Linked DNA regions of Homo sapiens: regions 1 and 3 are each linked to region 2. The links are contacts of gene promoters, found by promoter capture Hi-C in blood cells and fetal thymus (Javierre and others, 2016). All regions are on one chromosome and are shown on one strand. The core of a region is centred on a gene start or on the middle of the fragment in contact, and the rest is flanking DNA. Distances in the headings are between cores, read along the strand shown.

Region 1 (2,700 bases), core at 127-2,626, 160 kb before region 2:
TGAGCATATAAGGTATGATAATATTGCCATCAAAGAGCTTATAGTGCTTAGTGAATGATAATAAGGGCCATAGTAGTGGAGTGATTAGAAAAAGCTTTCTATAAATGGCAGGACGTGAACTGGGCTTTGATTTAGGCTTTGATTGAAAACTATGTGGAAGACATTTTAGGTGGGAAGCACTTGGGCAAAGGATGGAAAATAAGAATAAGAATGGATGAGGATTAGTAGAAAATAAAGTTAGCAAGATAATAACTTGAGGCTAAATTGTGGGGGCCTTAAATGTTGGGCTGGCAGATTAGTGTTTTATTCTGAAGGTGGTTTTCAGTTTTTTTTGTTTTTTTTTTTTTTTTTTTTTTGCCTGTAACACATTTATTTCTCCATTTAGTTCAATTGTTAACGACTGTCATTATGTGCTGTGATTCTCAAGTGGGGACACATCTCCTAGGAGGGAGATGGGGCACATTCTCCTTGCACTTATTAATTACTGTTGCAGATAGTGGGAAGCCATTGAAAGTTTTGACTGGAGAATTGACATATGAAGGTGATCTTTAGGAATATTAGGCTCTTGGTCATATGCTTATGTGATTTGAAGAATAGTGATGCCATTGATAGACTAGGAAGATCATGGGTGGGGTCGGTTTAACCGTGGGCATATAAAAGAATTGTTTTCCTTACTGAAAATATGAATGTACCAGTATTTGAGCTCTGGAATGAAAATCTCCAGGGAGGAAGGTATGGCTGTGCATGTTTCTCAACTATATTTTGTTTTTTCTGAATTTCACCTTCTCTTTGGGGTTTTCTCACTGTGAATCCTGTAGTAACCAGGGGTTACCACTTCTTTTTTTTTTTTTTTTTCTCAAGAAGAGCTAAAAAGACCTCTTTCTTTATTTTCCTTTTGCAAAGGCTTATAAGGGCTTATGTTTTCAAAAGGAAATTTATTAAAAATTTTAAAGTAATTTTTTAAAAAAATTGTTAAAATTTTGAGAGAGAAAAAAAAGGAAATCAATATAGAAAATACAAATGGGGCCAGGTGCGGTGGCTCAGGTCTGTAATCCCAGCACTTTGGGAGGCTGAGGCGGGCAGATCAGTTGAGGTCGGGAGTTTGAGATCAGCCTGGCCAACATGGCGAAACCCCATCTCTACTAAAGATAAGAAAACTAGCTGGGTGCAATGGTGGGTGCCTGTAATCCCAGCTACTCAGGAGGCTGAAGCAGGAGAATCGCTTGAATCTCGGAGGCAGAGGTTGCAGTGAGCCGAGATTGTGCCACTGCACTCCAGCCTGGGCAACAGAGCAAGACTCCATCTCAAAGAAACAAACAAATAAAGAAACCAAGTAGGGGCTACGTGTGGTGGCTCACGCCTATAATCCCAACAGTTTGGGAGGCTGAGGTGGGTGGATCACCAGAGGTCAGGAGTTCGAGACCAGCCTGGCTAACATGGCGAAACTCCATCTCTACTAAAAATACAAAAATTAGCCGGGCTTGGTGGCACAGGCTTGTGATCCCAGCTACTTGGGAGACTGAGGCAGGAGAATCACTTGAACTCTGGAGGCTGAGGTTGCAGTCAGCCAAGATTGCATCACTGCACTCCAGCCTGAGCGACAAAGCGAGACCTTGTCTCTAAAAAAAAAAAAAAAAAAAGAAACCAAGTGGGAATACATTATGAGAAAGACACTGTCTCAGAAAAAGAAAGAAAGAATACAAAGGGGGTAAAAATTATCCATTTTGGGTTTCTGATTCTAAGAATCCCAATAGCAAAGGAGTTTCCCATATCTCAAATTCTCTTATCCTAAAAAATCTCAAAACCAGATATTACAAAATCAGATATCTGCAGGGGCCAGTCATATTACATAAACATGTATATCAGGCTGGATAGAAGACAACAGAGAGTTGTAGGGGCCTGTGGAAAACGAAATCATGCATGTCCCTGTATCTAGACCTGGATAGGCTAGCACAGTTTAACAGACTGCGCTCCAGGGGGTTGTATATCTTACTTTACTCAAAGGAAGTTACCAACTCTGCCAAAGTGAAAACTATTTTTTCCTCTGTTTTGCTCCATCAAATCCACCATTAGTCTCTCATTTGGTTTATTTATTTATTTATTTGTTTTCTAAAAGAGACAGGATCTCACTATGTAGCCGAGGGCTGGTCTTGAACTCCTGGGCTCAAGCAATTTGCCTGCCACAGCCTCCCAAAGTGCTGGGATTACAGGCATGAGCCACACTTACTTGCTTTAAATCTCCAGTCTAAGAAATCCATTTGGTTCAGATTTGATTTGTGAGGCAGTGATGATGTTTGATGTCTTACTTCTTTACTTTTGAGACGGAATCTCACTCTGTCCTGTAGGCTGGAGTGCAGTGGGGTGATCTCGGCTCACTGCAACCTCTGCCTCCTGGGTTCAAGCAATTCTCCTGCCTCAGCCTCCTGAATTACTAAGATTACAGGCACCTGCCACCACGCCTGGCTAATTTTTTTGTATTTTTAGTAGAGACAAGGTTTCACCGTGTTGGCCAGGCTGGTCTCAAACTCCTGACCTTGAGTGATCCACCCACCTCGGCCTCCCAAAGTGCTGGGATTACAGGCGTGAGCCACTGTGCCCGGCCTTGATGTCTTACTTCTGACAAATACCTAGCCCTTTTGGGCCTAACCTATAAGCTTCATGTACCTCCAGAGCTTTTTGTGAAGATTTACACAGTTGAGT
Region 2 (2,700 bases), core at 111-2,610:
AGCTCCAGTAAAACAGATGTCACCTTGATCTAATGAAAAGCCTCTGCCATGGAACATGTTGGGTGAGTTCTCTGTCACCAGAGTGTTCAGCAGACCCTTCTGTGAGAAGCAGAGAGGGGAGGTGGACTAGGCGACTTCTCTAACCTTGAGACTCTTGGAATCCTGTGAAGGAGTCAATAAAGGGGGGATTTTAGTCATTGTTGGGGAGCTGGGGGAGATATTGTTAGATTAAGGGATCTTCTTACCTATGAAATTGCATCCTTAAAGCTCACCCCATTACTCTGTTCTTTCCTGTCCACATAGCCAGTTTGGGAGGCTAAGATATAGAACTGGGAACCAGAAATTCTGAGTTCCAGTTGCAGCTTGGCAACTAACTTGCTGTGTGACCTTCACATAATCACATCTCTTTTCTGGGATTTCATTCTCCTCTCATTTAAATAATAAGGCTGAACCAGAGATTTGCAAACTCTGCTCTGTGGAACTTTAAGGGTCAATTAGGTTCTCTCTGTTCCAAAAAAAAAAAAAAAGAAGAGCTGGAAAACGTCTATCCAAGATGACCTACAGGTCGAACCCAATCTCAGAATGCAGTAGATGGGTATCCTCTTCTCCAGATTATCTCAGCTCTAGGAGCCCCTGCCTTTGTGATGTCTCCAAGCCCTGAGTTACTGTGGTCTTGGCAGGACTGTACTCCACCCAATCCCTGAAGAAGCCACAGTCTTACCACACTCAGCTTCCTGATGATCCAGGCCTGTCCTCATGGACCCTTAACCCCTTGGTCCTTGGCTCTCCAAGGTATCGATCCCACCATTGCTTTCCTCTGCCAATCCAGGGTCAAGCCCCTCTTGCATTTTCTGAAGTTCTGAGCCTTTTCTTTATCACCTCATTCAAGTCGCTAGTGAAAGTATGGTTCACTCCCCTGCCGTATGCTTGCACTACAGTTTACAAAATGCTTTCACACCCATCACTTTTTTGACCCCTCCAAGGTTAGGAAGACAGGGCAGGTATTGCTTTATCTGCTGGGAGGATAAATAAACGAAGGCCCCAGATGTTAAATGACTTGGTTGAAGTCCCAGGGCTTGTTCTAAGACCTGTATCTTCTTATTCCTCTGCCAGACCTTTTCCCACTGCTCCAAGTGACCTTTCCACAGTCCTGAGCAGTCACTGATCACTTTGTTTTTAGGATCATTCCCATGCAGGATGACACAGACCCATATCTCCTCCAGTAACATGCGCTCTGTGCAACTAAGCTCCACACACTATCACTTGCAGATGGAATTAGAAGCCCTGCTAACATGCAGCTTGAGGACATTCATGTCCATACTGTTTGGGACCTGCACAGTCACAGTGCAATGATGCCACTGAAGGCACTGAGGCTCACAGAGCACTCTCATATGCCAGCTCACGTGACCATAGACAGACATCATAATGGGCCACTGTGATGCACTTTTCTCAGAGCCTTCTGCTCTTCTGGCCTCCACCTTTCCTTTAATATGTCTTTGAAATGCACCAAAATGAACTTGTTTCTTTAGCTATTTATAATCCATGTCAAGTGGATCTGCTGATGATAAAAGTATGCCTTACCACTCATTGAACATGACTCTGCCAGGCTCTGCCCTATGCTAATGTTTTACAGGTGGTATTTCCTTTGACCTGGCTACAACCTTACCAGATGGGGATGGTTATCTCTGTTTTCAAATGAGGGAACCAAGGCTTGGAGAAGTGAAGTGGCTGGGCCAGCCCATGACCTGACAACTGAAATCCTTACCATCCCACTAGATCCCCTCTTACTGGCCTTCCTGGATAGCTTCTTCCTCATGTAAACATGACCTGCTGCTTGCCCAGTACAGGTGCACACCGCCTACAATTGGTTATAAAGGACAAACTGACAGCTTGCCTTATGAGTGTCCTTGGTTAGGTCTCTGTTTGATAAGGAAGTACATTTTGTCCCTGATAAGAAATAGAGACTATTTTGTTGCCCCAATGCCTTTTGCAAGCTTTCACTTTCCTAACTGAGGCGCTGCAGGCTTGGAGAAGATCACTGTACTCTGAGGTGGGGTGGGGCTCTGATTATATATTGACTTGAGTGGCATTTCCTACTTTTGTTTGGTCAGCAGGATTTCTCCATGACACTCCTCCATCTTGGGATGACGCATGTCATGTATAGAGGTGAATGGTTCAATGTCCCATTGACTGTGATGTTTCCTATTTCTTTTGTTTTCTTTGTTTAGAGATAGAGTCTCACTCTGTTGCCCAGGCTGGAGGACAGTGACATGATCATAGCTTACTGCAACCTTGAACTCCTGGGCTCAAGAGATCTTCCCATCTCAGCCTCCCATGTAGCTGAGACTACAGGCATGCACCACCATGCCCAGCTTGTTTTAATCTTATTTTGCTTTTGTAGAGATAGGGGTCTCACTGTGTTGCCCTGGCTGGCGTCAAACTCCTGGCTACAGATGATTCTCCCACCTTGGCCTCCCAAAGTGCTTGGATTACAGGCATGAGACACTGTGCCTGGATGAATATTTCTTTCTTTCTTTCTTTTTTTTTTTTTTTTGAGACAGAGCCTTGCTCTGTCGTCCAGGCTAGTGCAATCTTGGCTCTCAGCAACTTCCACCTCCTGGGTTCAAGTGATTCTCCTGCCTCAGCCTCCCATGTAGCTGGGATTACAGGCACCCATCACCACGCCCAGCTAATTTTTGT
Region 3 (2,891 bases), core at 392-2,891, 180 kb before region 2:
GAAGCGGGACGCCTGGCGGCTCCTGGGGTGGGGCTATGGTTGTGGTGGGACCTAGGGTTCGCGCTGTCCCAGGGGGACCGGGCGGGGCCCAGCCGGGATGCTCTCTGGGCCTCTACTGCCCTCTGCAGGGCGTCGGAGGAACTGCCCAGAGGGGTCACTGCTGAGGAGCGGACTCGGTGCAGATAAAGGTTCTCAAGGGACCCCTCCGCCGGGATGCCGCTCAGCGCCCCTCCACTCAAGAGAAATAAACCCGTGAATCTCGTTAATGTGAATGTTAGAGGCAGCCTTGAAGGAAAAAAGAAAAGGATGAAGTGTAGAAGCTTCGGACGCAGAACGGGACGCGTGTGGTGGGAGCAGGCAGCCGGGGTCTGGTGCCCAATGTGTCAGGCCTTTTTATAGGGCCCGTTACTCCTGGCCACATTTTAAACTCCTCCCCCTTTACCCAACAGACAAACAAAACCCATCAATTTGAGGGTTCTGAGCTTCCGGGCTTTCCGAAGGAATGGGCTAGAATAGTAAACCCAATTTTGGCAACTGTTAAGAGTACACTGGGGAGTGCCTATAAGGGAGATGAAAGTGGCGACTTTATTCGCGTTTGTGACCTTTGGCATTGTGGAGCTCTTGTCCGGCTAGGACTAGCTTAATCATCCCATGACCACTTCTGTCCCCATAAGAGCAGCATGTGGGAAATGTGACGGAAACACCATCCTCCAAACACAAGGCTTTGAGGATGCCATAAAGAAAGATCACCACGTATATGTATATATATGCATATATATATATGCATATATATATGCATATATATATGCATATATATATGCATATATATATATGCATATATATATGCATATATATATAAAGTTATGTCACAAGTCACAAGGGCACACTTCAAAAGCTAGGGGAAATGACTGTGTTAATCAGACTTAATAAGGAATTTCATTATTTACATTCTAAATTTTTCCTTCCTGGTACTTCTGTTCATTTTATATTTGTAGACTGGAATAATGAAGGAAATTGACATATTTTTTTCTCCCCCACAGGAAAAACAATCACATTCTCTGTCAAGCAGCCGTAGTTCTGATTGTCTACTAGGTTAAGCCTACTACTTTAGCTGCTGAGATAGAAAAGTTGTTTTGCAGGGGTTCCAGGCTGGGCATGTTGTCATTGGTGGCAGTGCACTGGAGTGGGAATGTGGAGGATGAGTTAAGTGGAAGTTAATTCAGTCTTTACCTCTGTGATGTGCTCTGCCTTGTATTCATGATTTCCTAGTCATTCTGGTTTTTGTTGAAATGAAATTTAGGTCTTTTCTGTTGCTCCTGGACACAGGTTCTTAGCTCTTTTTTGTGTCATCGATCCCTGAGAGTTTGATGATAGCTGTAGACCTCTTCCCCCTCCCCATGCATATATGCGTGTACACATAACATTTTCATATAATTCTAGAGGATTCACATGCATTGACTCTAGATTAAGAACCTGTTTTAGGGATTTTTAAAAAAATCCTGAGAGCTTCCTAAACTTTGTTTTTAGATAATGATCAAATACTTCGAATTTCCTGGCCCTGACACTATGACTTATGATGTTTTATAAGACAAGAACTATTCCTTCTCTTCTAGTTCTGGGAAAGGATAGGAGTGACATATTTATTAGGAATGTGATAAAGATGGAACAAGAAGGGTTTAGGTTTCCACGTTATGTTATAGTATTAGAAAGCAGAAATACTAACAGCAATATGCTGAGGTTTAAACACTATGGAAGAAAGATTTTCTGTCCTCTAGGAATGTAATATGGGAAAAAAAAAACCCTCAAGATTTTAAATATACTTTTAGTGGCCAGGAGGTAGTAAAGTCAGTGCTCAGCTGGTTGTATACTGGGAGAACGTAAATCCATGCCTTCTATTTTATCAGGGAGGATTTTCATGAGATTTTAGTTGATACAGACTGGTTTGGGTGGTGCCCTCCCTAGGCCAGCATGACCCTGAGGCTCTTTACTAAATGAGGACTTTTTTGCAGATGGAAGAACTGGAGCAAGGCCTGTTGATGCAGCCATGGGCGTGGCTACAGCTTGCAGAGAACTCCCTCTTGGCCAAGGTTTTTATCACCAAGCAGGGCTATGCCTTGTTGGTTTCAGATCTTCAACAGGTGTGGCATGAACAGGTGGACACTAGTGTGGTCAGCCAGCGAGCCAAGGTAAGTATGAGGAGAAGTACTGCTGTGTCGGGGATGTGAACATCAACCAGCTTGCTGGCCTGTAGTTTCCCAAGGAAGGTTGAATCGGGTTGAGACAATTCCAGTTAATGTCCTGTACTTCTACCTGTACTTCTGCCTGGAATCTTTGTGTGTGTGTGTGTGTGTGTGTGTGTGTGTGTGTGTGTGTGTGTGTGAGAGAGAGAGAGAGAGAGAAAGAAAGTTAGTTTCCCTACCCTATGCATGATAATGAATATATTATTTGATCTAGATAGGCCTTTTGTGATTTAATCTTGCCCAAGGCAGAATTGTGAAGTAGGCCAATTGGTCTTTGTGACTCTCTTCTTTTTGTTTTCTTCTTTCCCCTTGTGATGTTTTTATCTTCTCTCCCCTTCCTCTCATGTCCATTGCCTTCGTGTTAACCAGGGCTTTCCTTTGCTGTTACTTATGAGGGAATTAGTTTCCTTTTAGCACCCTTACTCTGTACCACTGCTCTCTCTTTAGGAGCTGAACAAGCGGCTCACTGCTCCTCCTGCAGCTTTCCTCTGTCATTTGGATAATCTCCTTCGCCCATTGTTGAAGGACGCTGCTCACCCTAGCGAAGCTACCTTCTCCTGTGATTGTGTGGCAGATGCACTGATTCTACGGGTGCGAAGTGAGCTCTCTGGCCTCCCCTTCTATTGGAATTTCCACTGCATGCTAGCTAGT

The links. Contacts are between HindIII fragments. The CHiCAGO score rates a contact against its expected background, and 5 or more counts as called.
Region 1: a fragment that was not itself captured here is called in contact with the fragment with the promoter of LINC00608 in region 2 in 1 of 17 cell types (M2 macrophages); the score reaches 5.5 in M2 macrophages.
Region 3: a fragment that was not itself captured here is called in contact with the fragment with the promoter of LINC00608 in region 2 in 4 of 17 cell types (M2 macrophages, M0 macrophages, endothelial precursors and 1 more); the score reaches 7.1 in M2 macrophages.

The regions. Positions count from the first base shown.
Region 1 is chr2:219,135,227-219,137,926 of GRCh38, reverse strand. The region is part of intron 5 of NHEJ1 (non-homologous end joining factor 1); the gene reads left to right. Among named protein-coding and RNA genes, the nearest start is that of NHEJ1, 24 kb to the left of the region's middle. The HindIII fragment of the contact is 2,560 bases long and covers 97-2,656 here.
Region 2 is chr2:218,974,944-218,977,643 of GRCh38, reverse strand. LINC00608 (long intergenic non-protein coding RNA 608) reads right to left here and starts at 1,360. Exons shown (of 2, transcript NR_024385.1): 1 at 246-1,360; 2 at 1-162. The HindIII fragment of the contact is 22,563 bases long and covers 1-1,996 here.
Region 3 is chr2:219,157,481-219,160,371 of GRCh38, reverse strand. It overlaps NHEJ1 (non-homologous end joining factor 1), which reads left to right. Exons shown (of 8, transcript NM_024782.3): 2 at 2,010-2,186; 3 at 2,688-2,891. The coding sequence starts at 2,010. Among named protein-coding and RNA genes, the nearest start is that of NHEJ1, 1.9 kb to the left of the region's middle. The HindIII fragment of the contact is 2,637 bases long and covers 323-2,891 here.